Regions from separate parts of the Homo sapiens genome. Here regions 2 and 3 are each linked to region 1. Evidence: promoter capture Hi-C in 16 types of primary human blood cells and fetal thymus (Javierre and others, 2016). All regions are on one chromosome and are shown on one strand. The core of a region is centred on a gene start or on the middle of the fragment in contact, and the rest is flanking DNA. Distances in the headings are between cores, read along the strand shown. Region 1 holds the start of PGK2 (phosphoglycerate kinase 2). Region 2 has its middle 24 kb from the start of CRISP2. Region 3 holds the start of CRISP2 (cysteine rich secretory protein 2).

Region 1 (4,764 bases), core at 1,267-3,766:
GTGAGAGAGCGACATGTTTTATTCTTGTTTCAACTACTCAAGTTTTGGTTCCATTAATCCTAACTCCTACATCTTTCCTGGGATTACTATGATATTAACATTCTGCTTAAAATATGTTGAAATTTCAGATGTATTAAGATTCATATTTGAAGCTCAATTATTCAGGATATTGAATATCACAATTGATCTGCGGTTATGGGACATAAGACATTATAGCTGGGAAAGGTTAATCTGCATTTTTACTCTTAATTACTATTCTTGTTAATAGCATTGCCCTAAACTACCTCTGTCTACAGAATAAAGCAAAATATTTTCCAATAAGTGTTTTTGTTTTTTCTACATTTCTTATCATTTTATCTTCTGTTTTCTAATAGAGAATTTTTATCTCTATTTTCCCATTATTAAACCAGCTATGTATATATATTTTATTTATCTCAAAAACCAAGTTTTAGAACTTACCAGTTATATTATCTATTTATTAAATAATGCCTGCCTTAAAAATAAAACAATTACTTATTTACAACTTGGGTTTAACTTGTAGCTCTTTTTCTAGCTGGCATTTGTGTGTAATCTTGTGCATTGATATGCACACAAACATAATTCTTACCTTGAGTTTAATTTCTTTTCTTTTTAAAAATTCCTTGGGTTTAATAAGTGTCTTTCATTTCTCTTTTTTTTGGTCCTATTTAGTATAACATTTCCCCTTAGCAGAACTTTAATGGTACCCATGAGTTCTTTATATGTAATTATTTTTCTCAGTTTATTTGGGCATATTTATTGTTTGTTTGTCAACTTTCATTCCACCCTTTCCCAACAAATTAAGTTTTATCTTTTGGGTTTCAAATTATGAAACAATAGCAAAGTTGGACTAAAATAAAAAGATTCAGTTTCTTCAGCTCACTTTCTTTAATAGGCAACTTAAGAATATGTCCTCCCTAGATAGCACAATGGTGAAGTTCAAATGAGAACTTGAACAGGCAAATGCGTGACCAAACTAAAATGAATTGCTGTGCTGATATTAAGAGTTCCTGATGGCCTGCTGCTTGTCCATTACATAGGTCTTGATCTAGGAGTAGATTTTAACAAAAGTCACATCGAGATGTAAAAGCATTAAGCTGACTTAAGGGCCATGGACAGAAAACAGAAGGAAGTAACACTATATTAACTACATGTTGCTGAGGGCCTCTACTCCAGGAAGGATTTTACCTTCCAGAAGCTCTAGACTGGCACCGCCTCCAGTGCTGACATGGCTGACTTTATCTTCAGTGTTCCATTTGGCACAGCAAGTAGCAGTGTCTCCACCCCCTATAACAGTGATGCAGCCCTTGGAAGTGGCTTTCACAATTTCATCCATGAGGGCTTTGGTTCCCTTAGCAAAGGCATCCCATTCAAATACTCCTAACGGCCCATTCCAAACAATTAGCCTTGCTTGAGCCACAACTTGAGCATGATTCTTGTTGCTCTCAGGACCACAGTCCAAACCCATCCAGCCAGGAGATATGCCAGATGCTACAGTGGCTTTTCCAACCTGAGCGTTCTCGTCAAACTTGTCCCCAGTAACAAAATCAACAGGAAAAGTAATCCTTACACCATTCTTTTGTGCTTTGGCCATGATATCTTTAACGATCTTGGCTCCCTCTTCATCAAACAGGGAAGCACCAATCTCCATGTTGTTGAGTACCTTAAGGAAGGTATAAGCCATTCCACCACCAATAATCATCTCATTGACTTTGTCCAGCATATTTTTGATAAGTTGGATCTTGTCTGCCACTTTGGCTCCACCAAGTATAGCCAGAAAGGGTCTCACTGGGTTTTCCAAGGCTTTAGCAAAGTAATCTAGTTCCTTCTTCATCAAGAATCCGGATGCTTTATGGGGCAGATTCACTCCCACCATGGAACTATGAGCGCGGTGTGCAGTGCCAAAAGCATCATTGACATAGACGTCCCCTAGCTTGGAAAGTGATGCTCGGAAGGCTTCTATTTTATCTGGCTCAGCTTTAATCTTCTTTCCAGAGGGATCTTGGCCCTTCCCTTCTTCCTCCACATGAAAGCGCAGGTTCTCCAGCAGGATGACTGAACCAGGAGCTGGGTTGGCACAGGCTTTCTCCACTTCTGCGCCTACACAGTCCTTCAGGAACAGAACATCCTTGCCCAGCAAGGATTTGAGCTCAACAGCAACAGGTGCTAAGGAATATTTGTCAGGCATGGGAACACCATCAGGCCGACCTAGATGACTCATAAGAACTACTGCCTTGGCTCCATTGTCCAGGCAGTACTTGATGCTTGGGATGGAAGCCTTGATCCTCTGGTTGTTTGTAATCTGGTTCTTCTTCATGGGAACATTGAAGTCTACTCTCATGATGACTCGCTTCCCTCTAACATCCAGTTTGTCTAAAGTCAACTTCTTAGAAAGAGACATCTTGACAATATAAAGACATAGGCTGACACCTGGATCTTAATGCTGAAGAACCAACTTGCTGTTGAGGGGCTGGGTCGGTGGTGACTTCTAACGCCTTTGCCCTTGTCCCGCCCCTTTCTTCTCCTCACTGTCTCCAGCACAACGGCCACTGTTAGACTGGAAAGCAAATCTAGCTTTGTGATTGGCTCATGGTCCTGTCAATCTCGATCTGAACTGTGTTGCTAGGTGAAGATTCCAACTTCCTGGGCAGAGGGTCATGTAGTGGAATAGAGCTGTACCTGGCTTCAGGCGAGACTTGGGTAGGTGAAGAAACCCCAGAATAAGAATGGTTCTAAAAAAACAAGAATAGTCCTGAGGTGTGCGCCGCCTTCTGGCTCTTTTTGCCCCCACCCCACAGCTCGGTTAACAGTTGCTTTTATTATTAAAAACAAAACAAAAAGAACTCCACCCCCACCCCCGCAAACCTACATACACCTCATTCATGTCAAATCTTAACCATTTTGATATGTAAAAACCTCTGCAGTGCCAAATAAAAGGAATATTTGAAATAATGATTTTCATATGAAACCTTGCTTATTCAAGTCAGGATAGTATAGTTCTGTTTTTTCCTTGTCTTGATAAATATTTCTTTGAGGATGTGGCTTGTTGTTAGTCTTCATCTTTAGATCTATTCTGGGACGTGGTGGGAATGCTGTCATATTTTCATTACTTTGCTTCTTCCATTTTCAGACTACCATGAAAGAATGTTTGGTCACTTCTGCAGGAGAATCCCATAAGATCATAGCAAAGAGAGTATCAGTAACAAGTGCTGAAAGTAATGGTGACATTTCTTTCAGACTACAATGTTATGATGAGGCTCCTTATTTTTTGTCTCCTCTCTGTTTGCTTTCCTACCTGTACAACTTAGAAATTGAGCTGAAAAATAAATGCATGGTTTTCATGAAGATGAAAACATATATTAGAATTGAAAGTGAGTAAGATATTCTATTTTTGGAGAAAGCAAATGTATGTGGCTAGTTGGTTTAGTAATGAAAATTGGCTTTACAGTTTTTTTCATTCTACTCCATAAGTTGAGTGAACTAAATATGTAAAATGAAGGCTTTGACAGAAATATATTTGAGGCATCTCCTATTAAGATGGCTAAAATAAAAAATAAAAACAAGTGTTGAGAAAGAAGTGGACAAATTGGAATCCTCATTTATTGCTGATAGGAATGTCTAATGGTGCAGCCACTTTAAAAAACAGTTTATCGGTTCCTCAATGTTGAACATCGAGTCAACAGCATTTAAAAGCAAACTTAAATGGTGTTAAAATATATAGTAACAGAAACTCTCATTTGTTGCTCCCAGGAATGAAATATGCTACAGACATTTTGGGAAACAGCTTGGCAATTTCTTAGAAATATGCATAGACTTACCATACAAGTCATCAATCCTATTTCTAGATATTCATCCAAGGACATCAAAAACCTGTATTCTCTCAAACTTCTGTAAACAAACGTTTAGAGCAGTTTTATTAATAATTACCAAAATTGTATATTCTTCAAGTAATAAATAAATAAACTGTGATATATCCATGCAATGGAATATTATTTTTTAAAAAAAGAAAAGAAACAAGCTATTTACTTACACAAAAGCCCTGGATAAAACTTAAATGTGCCTTACTAACTGAAAGACGCCAGGCAAAAAAATTTTGTAGTTATTGTATAATTCCATTTGTATGACATTTGATAAAAGGCAAAACTATAGGGATGGAAAACATATCAGTGGTTGCTACAGGTTAAGAGAGCGTGGTCAACTATAATGGGGATACACAGGAGGATTTTTAGTGTGGTAAACTTTTCTATGAGGTACTGGAGTGGTGGATACAACATTCTATGCACTTGTCAAAATTCATAGAATCGTACGTTGTAGAGAGTAAACTTTAATGAATGCAAATAAAAAATATGATCCAGAGTGTTAGGGAATCGTATTATATAATGTAGCCTCTGACAGATAAGCCTAACTGTATCGTAATATATAGGAAATTTTACTACATGTGATGTGGAAATTTTACTACAGGTGATGTGGACAAAAAAAGGAAATGACTTAAGTAACTTTGCAAAAGAGGTTTTCAGTTTGTAAAACTAAAGACAAAAACAGCTGTCCATAAATATAATACTCTAGTTGGTAAGTTTGAATATCACAAGCTTATAGGTGAATAATTCTTAAACTATTTGTGTTATTAGAGATAAACAAATAATGGAAGATAATTAAAAGTTTCTCACCGTCAGGAAAATAAATTACAAATAAGCAAGGGCAGAATGAACTCTGTGGTGCTGGATTAAGAGTCTGAGATATCGGTAT
Region 2 (4,764 bases), core at 914-3,413, 98 kb before region 1:
TGAATCATTCTCAAGCTACTAAAAATTTCTTTTTCTTACATCACTTTCTGCCAGGAGTAATATTATCTAACTCTTCCTGTCCTTTGACATCACTGGAAGCATCACATTGAGCTTCTAAATTTTCTATGCAGAAACTTTTCATTCCTAGAATCTTGAAATTCAGTGTTCTCGCACAAAACTCTTGTCATGCGAACAAGGGCAAATGACCACACAGTACCCATGCCAAAACTGCTGGAGTTGGGATTACTGGGGAAAATTCATAGAGGAGGGGTCAGAGGGTTAATCTGTTGTTCATCACCATTTGGGTCAGTGTGAAGAGATACAGTAGGTTCAGACATGAGACTGTTAGAGATTTCCATCCTTGAGCCCTGGAGCCTTTAAGTTTCACGATCACACAACGTGGGTTTCTCCTCTCATGTACTCAGGGGCGAGGATCAGAAGTGAAATGAACCTTGCTTCAGTTCCACTGTGGTACCTCTGCTTTCTGGATTGGGGCAGGCTTGGGGGACAGTTACCCCTCCCCTGATGCAGCAGAGGCCTGGGATCTAAGCCGGATGGTTAAAGTCACATGGCGTAACAAATAAACAACAGTATTAGGCACACCTGTGTTCACAACTGGGGAAATACCAGCCCTTCCTTTGATATGCCGAGGGACTGATGTTCAAGTTTTGAGAAACTGTCTCAATCACTGGGCCATAGCTTGTTGCCATGGAGCTTTGAAGGAAGTCAGTCCCATCTCTGGGAGGTCAACCTGCAATGGATGAGTCCTAAGACAAGCAAAGTCTTACTGTTCACTCTTAGTTTTACATCTTTAAAACAAATTAACAAAACTATGGTTCTGAAAAATTAAGTGACATGCATATTTACAGTTGGAGAAAAGCTTGAACAGGATTCAGTTTTCCTTGTATTTAGAAAAGCGTGTTTGTTTTTGTGTTATGTGGTGCTTCTTCTGTTAATACTAGAAGACTTTAAGATAAGGATGTTTCTTTTTTATTTTTTAAGGCTAGTCAACTGGGAAATATACAGAATATAAATACAAATAAAATACAAAATAAAAATGCTTTTTTTTTCAATTAGGAAAATACATTAAAATATTATCTGCCACAAATGAGTCACTGGGCATTTACTAGCAACCTAGCTGGTAACTAATTGGGCTTTAAGGTACAGGCCAAAAAGCCATTATATTGTGATGAGAAAATATTCCGAAAACAGATCTTACTCTGTTAATGTTACCTGTTGAGTGGGGATTGCCTCTAAATTTTGTAGAAAATTTTGAATACCATTAATGTCTATGCTGAGAGCCTCTTTCCAAAATGACTGCTTTACATTACCTTATTTCCACAAAAATGCATTTTTGAATCTCATTACTTTCATTTAAAAAGTCTCATATTGATTAAGGTATTATTAGTTGAATTATTTGTAGCAGTTACATTATCTTTATAGTTTGCTCTGAGTAAACACTAGCTGTACACCCTAGATTATGATTTTCTCTTTTCTTTTCTTTTATTTTTTTGGGGGGGACTGAGTTTTATTCTCGTTGCCCAGGCTGGAGTGCAATGGCGCCGTCTCAGCTCACTGCTACCTCCACCTCCCGGGTTCAAGCGATTCTCCTGCCTCAGCCTCCTCCCAAGTAGCTGGGATTATAGGCACCTGCCATGACGTCCGGCAAATTTTTGTAGTTTTGGTAGAGATGAAGATTCACCATGTTGATCAGGCTGACCTGATCCTGACCTCAGGTGATCTGCCCTCCCTGGACTCCCAAAGTGCTGGGATTACAGCTGTGAGCCACTGTGCCCAGCCTGGATTATGAATTTCTGATGAAAGAAAATGACCATTCCTAAAGCATAATTTAAAACCACCACACATATTTAGACAGACCCTTTTATACTAGCATATTTAAAATTATATTACAGACATCAAAACATCCCAATCAACACCAAATTAATATATACCTCTAGTATGGTATTTATCATATTGGGCTATAATTACTTATGTTTTTATTATTTTCTTGCTTATATGTATTTTAATGCTATAAAATGGCACTGAGTTATTAATCTATTTTACTGGAATATAGCAGAGTCCTGGATGATAATAACATTGTTTATTAATCACTCATTATGTGCCAAGCAGTATTTTAAATAACTTACTACCTAAACAACTCAAAATATTACTAAAACTAATTAGTTTAATGAGATGACTGGATATAAAATAGGTATAAAAATTTCTTTTTTAAAAATAATAACAATAACGCTTTAATCATTAAAAATTTACTCCATAACTTTTACATTTTTAGGAATAAGTTTTATTAAAAAGAAACAAAATGTACATTAAATATTTTCTAATGTTTTCTAAGAACATAAAGTATACTCTGAGTAAATGGAGGAACTTATCACATTCTTAGATAGTATGGGTTAATCTAAGTTCTAATCAGAATCCCCCTCTCCTCACTATTCTTAACAAAAAGGTGATAAATTCACCCTCTTCCACATCACTCTTTCTTTCCAGAGAGAAACCAAGTTAGAGGACAGTGGGAGGGTTTTCAAAGCAGAAGACAAAAATGAGTATATTAAAAAAAATTCTCAGCTGTTTATAAGAGCATCTTCTATCTTTAAAATTTCTATATCTGCTTTATTGGAATTAATAAATATCAGTCAGCAATTTAAAGAGAACTTGCATTTGGAACATAGTTATGGATTTTCCTAATGTAAAATTCATATTGTTTGCTTATCAAAAAAGTTTTTAATATTCTGTACCCTTAGGTATCTTGTCTCCTATTTAGTCAATACCTGATTGAGAACAGAATTGATGATAAAGACATCTCCATTCATGTGGTAAATACTGAATGATAGCCTACCATATGTACACCACAGTGTGCATGCACTGCAAGCCATAGGAATAAATAGTCACAGGTTTCTCCTGGGGTAACTTAATATTTAATAGAGAAAGCACGTTTTCATGAAAGAAACCCAAACAAATCCTGTGTGATCCAAGAGGAAGGAGTAATTTCATATGAAACATTTGACTGAAATTAAAATTAAATACGATTCTGACCAGATTAAGTAAGAAAAACTAAGATAAACAAAAGCAAGGAAGTATGAAAAGAAATAGGCTGAGGCACAATCAAATGACAGAAATCAATGAATTATGGGAGCATGAATGTAGAAGGAAACACAGATTAATAGTTAATACATGACCAAATGAAGGAGGAACTTGAGTTAGCAATGATATCATAATGTTCACTGAAAATGTTCATTTTGGAAAAGATTCAGCAAAATCTATAAAATCAAATGTTTGTGGGTATTTGGAGTATTTCTGAAGACATTTTACTTTAGATTTGGACATTTTCGTTGGTTAAAAAGGTATATATCAAAATCGTCATTAACATTTTGAAAAATTAAATAACTATACAGTATCTAAGAATTTACTATTATTATTGTAGAATGAAGGTAAGCTTAGTGATACAAATTCAATTATATAAGACAAAACATACATTACACTAAAACAACTGTTCAGTTTAGTGGGAGAAAAAGTGTTTTGAGTGTAACTCTTAATTAGCAATTAAATTTTAAAGATTCTGGTATAGAGGGTTTTTTTTTTTAACCAGTCACTAGAGTTAGATAAATTTTAAGAATGCTATGAGAATAGCAAAGATTTTCCTACTACCTGAAAGTATTTATAAAGGTTATTTTTTAGTCACTTCTGTTAAGGACCAGATCAGATCTTCCACCCACAAAGCTAACTCTAATCTTAAAATTTTAAAGAAAACTCTGTATTTAAAACCTTTCAAATGCCACCCCAATAACGGAGTGCTTCATATGAGAACCACTCAAGTGGAATATTCTGTTTGCTTCTCTCTCACATTGTCACACTACCTCAGTGCTCTTGCAGTTACAAATATAAATATTCCTTTTCTCTCCTAAAATAGGCTTAAATATTTTAAAACATAGTTTGTAAGACACTTGAATTATTAAGATTAGGATGAAGAAACGCTCATCTTGTCAAAAAATCAATTTCCAAAGAAATTCTTGGGGAGCTATATATACAATGAATATATTCTATAATAGGCAATTTATCTTCTAGACACAGTTTAATTTTGATTTATTCTTGTAATTTGTTTCAAGTCTGTGTCAGGGTATGTTTTCCTTTTACTATATTGCTGATACATTTACTAAATGTTTGTTTAAAATTTTTTCATCTATGCTCATGATAGCGATAGATCTCTCTCTATATATTTTTTCCGTTGAAATGTCTTTAGTTTTAGTACTAAGATAATACTATCTTAAAGACTGAATTAAGAAGTATTTTCTCCCATGTAATTTTCTGGAAGAAACTGTAAAATTGCTATTAATTATTCTTTTAAGTATTTGACAGAATTATGTGGTGAAACCATTTGGGGGCCTAGAAATTTCCTTTTTGGAAGCTTTAAGATTATTAATTCAATTTCCTTAATGGTTATAGGATGATTCAGATAATCTGTTTAATTCTGTAGGCATTAGTAGCTCATGCTATTTCACCATCTGTCTAGCCAGATCTACTTTCTGGTTTTCAATAACCTTTCCACTTTTAAAAAAAGTTTTAGTATATGTTTTCTCATCTATAAGATGGGCTTACTTTACCCTGTCGTTACCAACCTAATATTGATTATTCCACTTGTTTGTTTTCTTGGAAGGCTGTATTTGTATATTTGGTTAAATTATGTCCTCTTTTCGTTGGCTTTAAAAAAATCAACTAAACCAGTAGGGAGATCAAAATATCAAAAAGGAG
Region 3 (4,764 bases), core at 607-3,106, 74 kb before region 1:
ATAGTTCAGCTGTCTATGATTTTTACTTTCTAATTATCAACTACCTGTAGCTTATTGGTTACGGGTGCATTCTTTGGAAACCATCAGGTCTGGGAAATCTATGCCAAGCTTCAGTGTTTTTCTTATGTAAAATGTAGATTTTTATATCACAGGTTTTTGCTTTGAAGACTGGAAGGGACAATGTATGTAACACCTCTAATACAATAAACACATTATGCACATAATACAAATAAACGGAAATTATTCATGTTTTTATTATCTTTTGCAATGTCTGCTAGTTTGTTGAGCTCATAAGAGCTTTCTATAAACATATGCTGTTTGATTGAATTGCTAATTACTAAGTGTTTAAGAGACATGTGTTTCCTTCCAGGTGTTATAGGAAAATACAATCAGTATAATCTAATTCGAGATTCACATGTTCAAGGCCTGGTTCTATTAGACACCTTCTGGCTGACTTTAGGAAAATGCTCTAACATCTGGGCTGTTGTATCCTCATCAGCTCATTGAAAGCCATACACAGGAGCCTGAAGAGTTTTGTATAGCTCAATCACCCAGTGTATGCATCTGATGAGCCAGAATTCTATAATAGGCCATGATGCCATACTCTCCTCTTTGCTGCTCTTCTCTCTCATAACCTCAACCATCTAACCTATACTCATCTTCATTGAGTCAATGAAAGCAATGTCACTGTTGGTGAGAGTATATTCAAGGAAAAATATTTTTTTCTATTCCATATAATTACATTTTATTCCTTTAAACCCATATTGATATATAGTTGAAAAGTTGGCTACCATTTTTTTTCTTTGCTACTTACTAATGGTGAAGTACTGTGCTCTTTCTTGCAGGTGTTTTAAGATCAGGATGACATGGTTTTCCTAGAGTGTCTTTAGGAGGGCCATGGTGTATAATTTTATAACCCTAGAACAAGGAAACAAAATATTTAAAATAAAGATGTGAAGAATACCCTTATAGATGGTATCTATAATCTTTGTCACAAACTTAAATTTTGACTCAATTGTTTAGTATTGTTTCTAATAATTTACTGTATTTATTTGATTTCAGCGTTAAGACCATATTGTCCTTCTGAGGTCAGATTGTATTTCAACGCCCTGATATTTCCTTCAAACACTAACAAAAAAGTGGACTTCTTGAAGTTCAGTAACTACTAGTTGGCTAACTTGCTTGGAAAATTGCAACCTTTTTTCAAGACTCCCAACCCCTTATCTAGGACTTCAACCCATTCTTTAAAAGATCATTTCCATAAGCAGTGTCCCACATGGTAAGTATTAACTACGTGGATTTGGGGGTAACAGCTTTGTCTCTTCATTTTTTTTTTAAATTCTGGAAGCCAATAGATGATATAAAGTCCAGCAGAGTCAATGACCCCAACTCTAATTGTTATTACAGTTTCTAATAACTGTACATTCAAAACATCAATTAGAAACTAAGAGTCTTAATTTGACTTCGTAAAAAGCAGATTGAGAAATGACTTCAGGCTTCTACTATGATTCAATGGGTCTTATGTACTTAGAATGATTTCTCTTTTAAGGTAGGTAAAGAGTTTCAATAGACTAAACATAGAGAAGCATGTTGAAAGTTATGGTAGGTCGGCGCTAAGCAACAAAATTGAACTCTCAGTCTGCCCGGCATTAGCTATGTGCCCTCCAGATGCCGGAAGAGGAGCGAAGGAGGATCAGAAACCCCCTCACCTCAACGATGGTTCTCTCCCCTGTGCTTCACCCCACCTCCCCGTCCCTAGCCATTTCTAGTCTCCAATCCGGGTCTTACATTTACCCTGGCTCCAGAGCACAGACCTTCCTGCAGTTGGGCCGGCGCGTTGCGGCGTTGAGGAGCTGCGGCGCGCCCCTCTCACCGCGATTGTTCACTTGCCAGGCGCCACGTGTGGGCGACGTCACTGGGCTTTATGCTTTCATCGCCGCTATCTGCCTACGTGAGCTGCTCTCCTCCCATCGCCCCCGCCTCCCCTACTACGGAGAAAATCTTGCACGTTTTCCCTTGTGAAAAGCAGAGTTCTCTTTTTCTCATTACCACCAGTTGATGAGGAAAGAAAATGTCTGTTCGCATACCTGCGCCGTACTAGGAGGAGGAGGGAGGTCATATAAGGATTCGGGTTGCCCAGGGGGTGGCTTGAAAAAGGAGGCGTTCGCATTCAAACAAGAATGCCTGAATTAATGTAGTTCAATTTAAAGAGCTAATTAGGAGTCCACAGGTGCTTAAGTTTGCAGTGCGCTGCCAGTGTCATGCCAACGACGCACTCCAGTTACACAGGTTGTCAGTTTCAGGCTCCCTCATAAACACTTCATGTTCTTGTCCCTCTTCCCCGTTGGCAACAGTTTTATGGTGAGAAAATTCACGAAGAGTAACAGGAACAACTCTTATGAAAATACGCAGAACTCCTGACCCAAGGCTACTGGCTGCAAGTTTAGCATACGTATCAAGCATGGGTTAAAGACATGTTTTCTCTCTCAGAAGGCGGATGAGTAATAGGTGCATTTTCTTCTATTCACAGTTGTTTTCAAAGCGAAAAGGAGTGAATTCGCTTATGACCTAGAGGAAGAGAGATGGGTCAAAAGATGTCAAGCCAAGGATTAATATCCGTCATACCTTGGTTCTCTGTAAGCCATGCAATAAGAGGCTTGAGATTTCACCAACTCTGGAGACTCACTTGGGCACAACTGAAACTATAACAAACTTGGTGCTCAGTGCCATTTTCCTTTGGCAGTGTTACAAGGTAATTTCAAGGGATCAGCACACAGACATTGTTTTAGTTTTCTTTTGCTGCTTATTTCAGTTCATGCAGCACTGACTAAAAATTTTGGAATTTAGACTGCTTAACGCTTATATCTACATCCAATATCAAAATTCATTACTGACAGTTTGCCTTTCTAAATATTTATGAAATCTAGTCCTCAATCTGTCCCTCACTTCTATATTCATGTTTTCACCATATCTTGCTTAAGTTATTAATTGGACATTTCAAATACCTATATGCACAAAATCTCTGCCTACCTATTTGTTCTTTCTTTCTAGTGCCGAACAATTCATTCTCAGCACTATAATAGTCTATCATTTACTGTGAATATCTTATTTTTCATTTTTGGAGAAGAGTCATTCCTGTAATTATTACTTGTTCCCATATTCACATTGATGATATCAGAATGAGAGCAACTTGAGCGCTGTGGTGCCAGATATTGTTGGTGAACCTGAATTTCAGAAATTGGCTATGTCTGTCTTGATTATTGCTGTATCTCCAAAACTAACACAATACCAAATATAGGTGGTAGTTTGTAAATATTTGTTAAGTGAGTAAATATTGACCCGACATAGATTCTTAGAAAATACAGAAAAAAGGACATAAAATCTCTTTCTTCTAAGACTCATAGTACTATGAGAGAAAGGAGTATGTATATGAATAAGTAAAGAATACTATTAGGTAGTGTAGTTTAATGCTAAGTAGGGCGACCAAAAATATATACAGTAATTGAGAGTTCTGTGAGTTGATATGATCTGGGTAAAACCTAGGAAAGTTTTGACATTTGAACTGTTATTGAATAATGCGTATGGCTTGATTTGAAGGGAGAAAGAGTTGAAGAACAAAAGCAGATAAATCATTATATCACAAGGCATATTCAAGACAGAAAGACTGTTGAAAAGGTTGGGGAAACTTTGTATAGAAGTCTAAGGAGATTTGCTTCTCTGTATAACATGGGAAAGTAATTTCATTGACATTTTGGAGGGTTGGGAAATTCTTTGATCAAAAGAATGTTTCATAAAAGCCACCTGATCTCACTGCATGGGGTGATTTACAGAGCTGAGAAATTGATGGCAGCAAAAATAAGTGTGGTAACAATTCCCCAGATTAATTTTGTAGTAGTAGAAATAGGACAAAAGGGTGGAATATGAAGAGATTTTTAAAAAGTGTTGATAGATTTTGTATGAAGGGCAAATCCAGAATAGAAGACTTGTAAGTTTGGTGCCTGAATGTGTTGGAGAGCACATGGAAAGTAGATCTCCATTACTGAGAGGAATAGTACAGGTACTTCTAAGAACATTGCCAGGAGTCCTTTGCTTTTCTAGAAGGGCATCATTTGTTAGTTCCTTTTTCTATGGTTTGGAGTAAAAGAAGCAATGATTAGAAATGCATTCCTCATAGTAGGCTCTATAGCAGATTCTACTGTATAGGATATAGTTAAATACCAGACTTTAAATTCTCTTGTGAAAATTATGATAGAATTGGCTGAATAGAGAAGTATCTGTGCAGCTGCTGGCACTTGTGGCCTATGGAGAAATACATCAGATGAAGACTATAGAGATTTAGCTGTAGAGGATAAATGAAGAGATTGCTTAGTTAAGTAAGTAGACTCTTTAGCTCATTTTTTGATCTATTTAATTTTAGGTGGTTTGGTTTATGGGTAACCTGGGTAAAGAGCATACTCCAAACTCTTGGTATTATCCTCCCGATAGTCATAATAATAGTTTCCCTGGTACACTGTATTCTCTCAAAGGTTTTAAGTGCTTCCACGCAGCCATTGCTAGAATGTCAAATGGTCTCTCTTCAATTAGAATGACAAGAGCTGAAAGAAATGTGTGACCATGAGGACACCATAACCTATGAATGATGTGGTGAGACCAGAAACCCGAAATAATGGTAACTGAGAGTGGTGCTAAGGCCCTAAGTTTTGGTCACACTCTCACCTAAGTGAGAACCTTATCAAAAAGGGGGGAATTTTCTTTTTAAGCAAA

What was found. Contacts are between HindIII fragments. The CHiCAGO score rates a contact against its expected background, and 5 or more counts as called.
Region 2: a fragment that was not itself captured here is called in contact with the fragment with the promoter of PGK2 in region 1 in 2 of 17 cell types (erythroblasts and megakaryocytes); the score reaches 16.4 in erythroblasts.
Region 3: the fragment with the promoter of CRISP2 here is called in contact with the fragment with the promoter of PGK2 in region 1 in 4 of 17 cell types (erythroblasts, neutrophils, megakaryocytes and 1 more); the score reaches 13.2 in erythroblasts.

What each region holds. Positions count from the first base shown.
Region 1 is chr6:49,784,769-49,789,532 of GRCh38, forward strand. PGK2 (phosphoglycerate kinase 2) reads right to left here and starts at 2,517. Exons shown (of 1, transcript NM_138733.5): 1 at 892-2,517. The coding sequence starts at 2,419. The coding sequence ends at 1,166. The HindIII fragment of the contact is 4,736 bases long and covers 1-4,605 here.
Region 2 is chr6:49,687,369-49,692,132 of GRCh38, forward strand. It overlaps a transcript of CRISP2 not described here. Among named protein-coding and RNA genes, the nearest start is that of CRISP2, 24 kb to the right of the region's middle. The HindIII fragment of the contact is 2,571 bases long and covers 879-3,449 here.
Region 3 is chr6:49,711,687-49,716,450 of GRCh38, forward strand. CRISP2 (cysteine rich secretory protein 2) reads right to left here and starts at 1,857. Exons shown (of 10, transcript NM_003296.4): 1 at 1,789-1,857; 2 at 815-918. The HindIII fragment of the contact is 4,905 bases long and covers 107-4,764 here.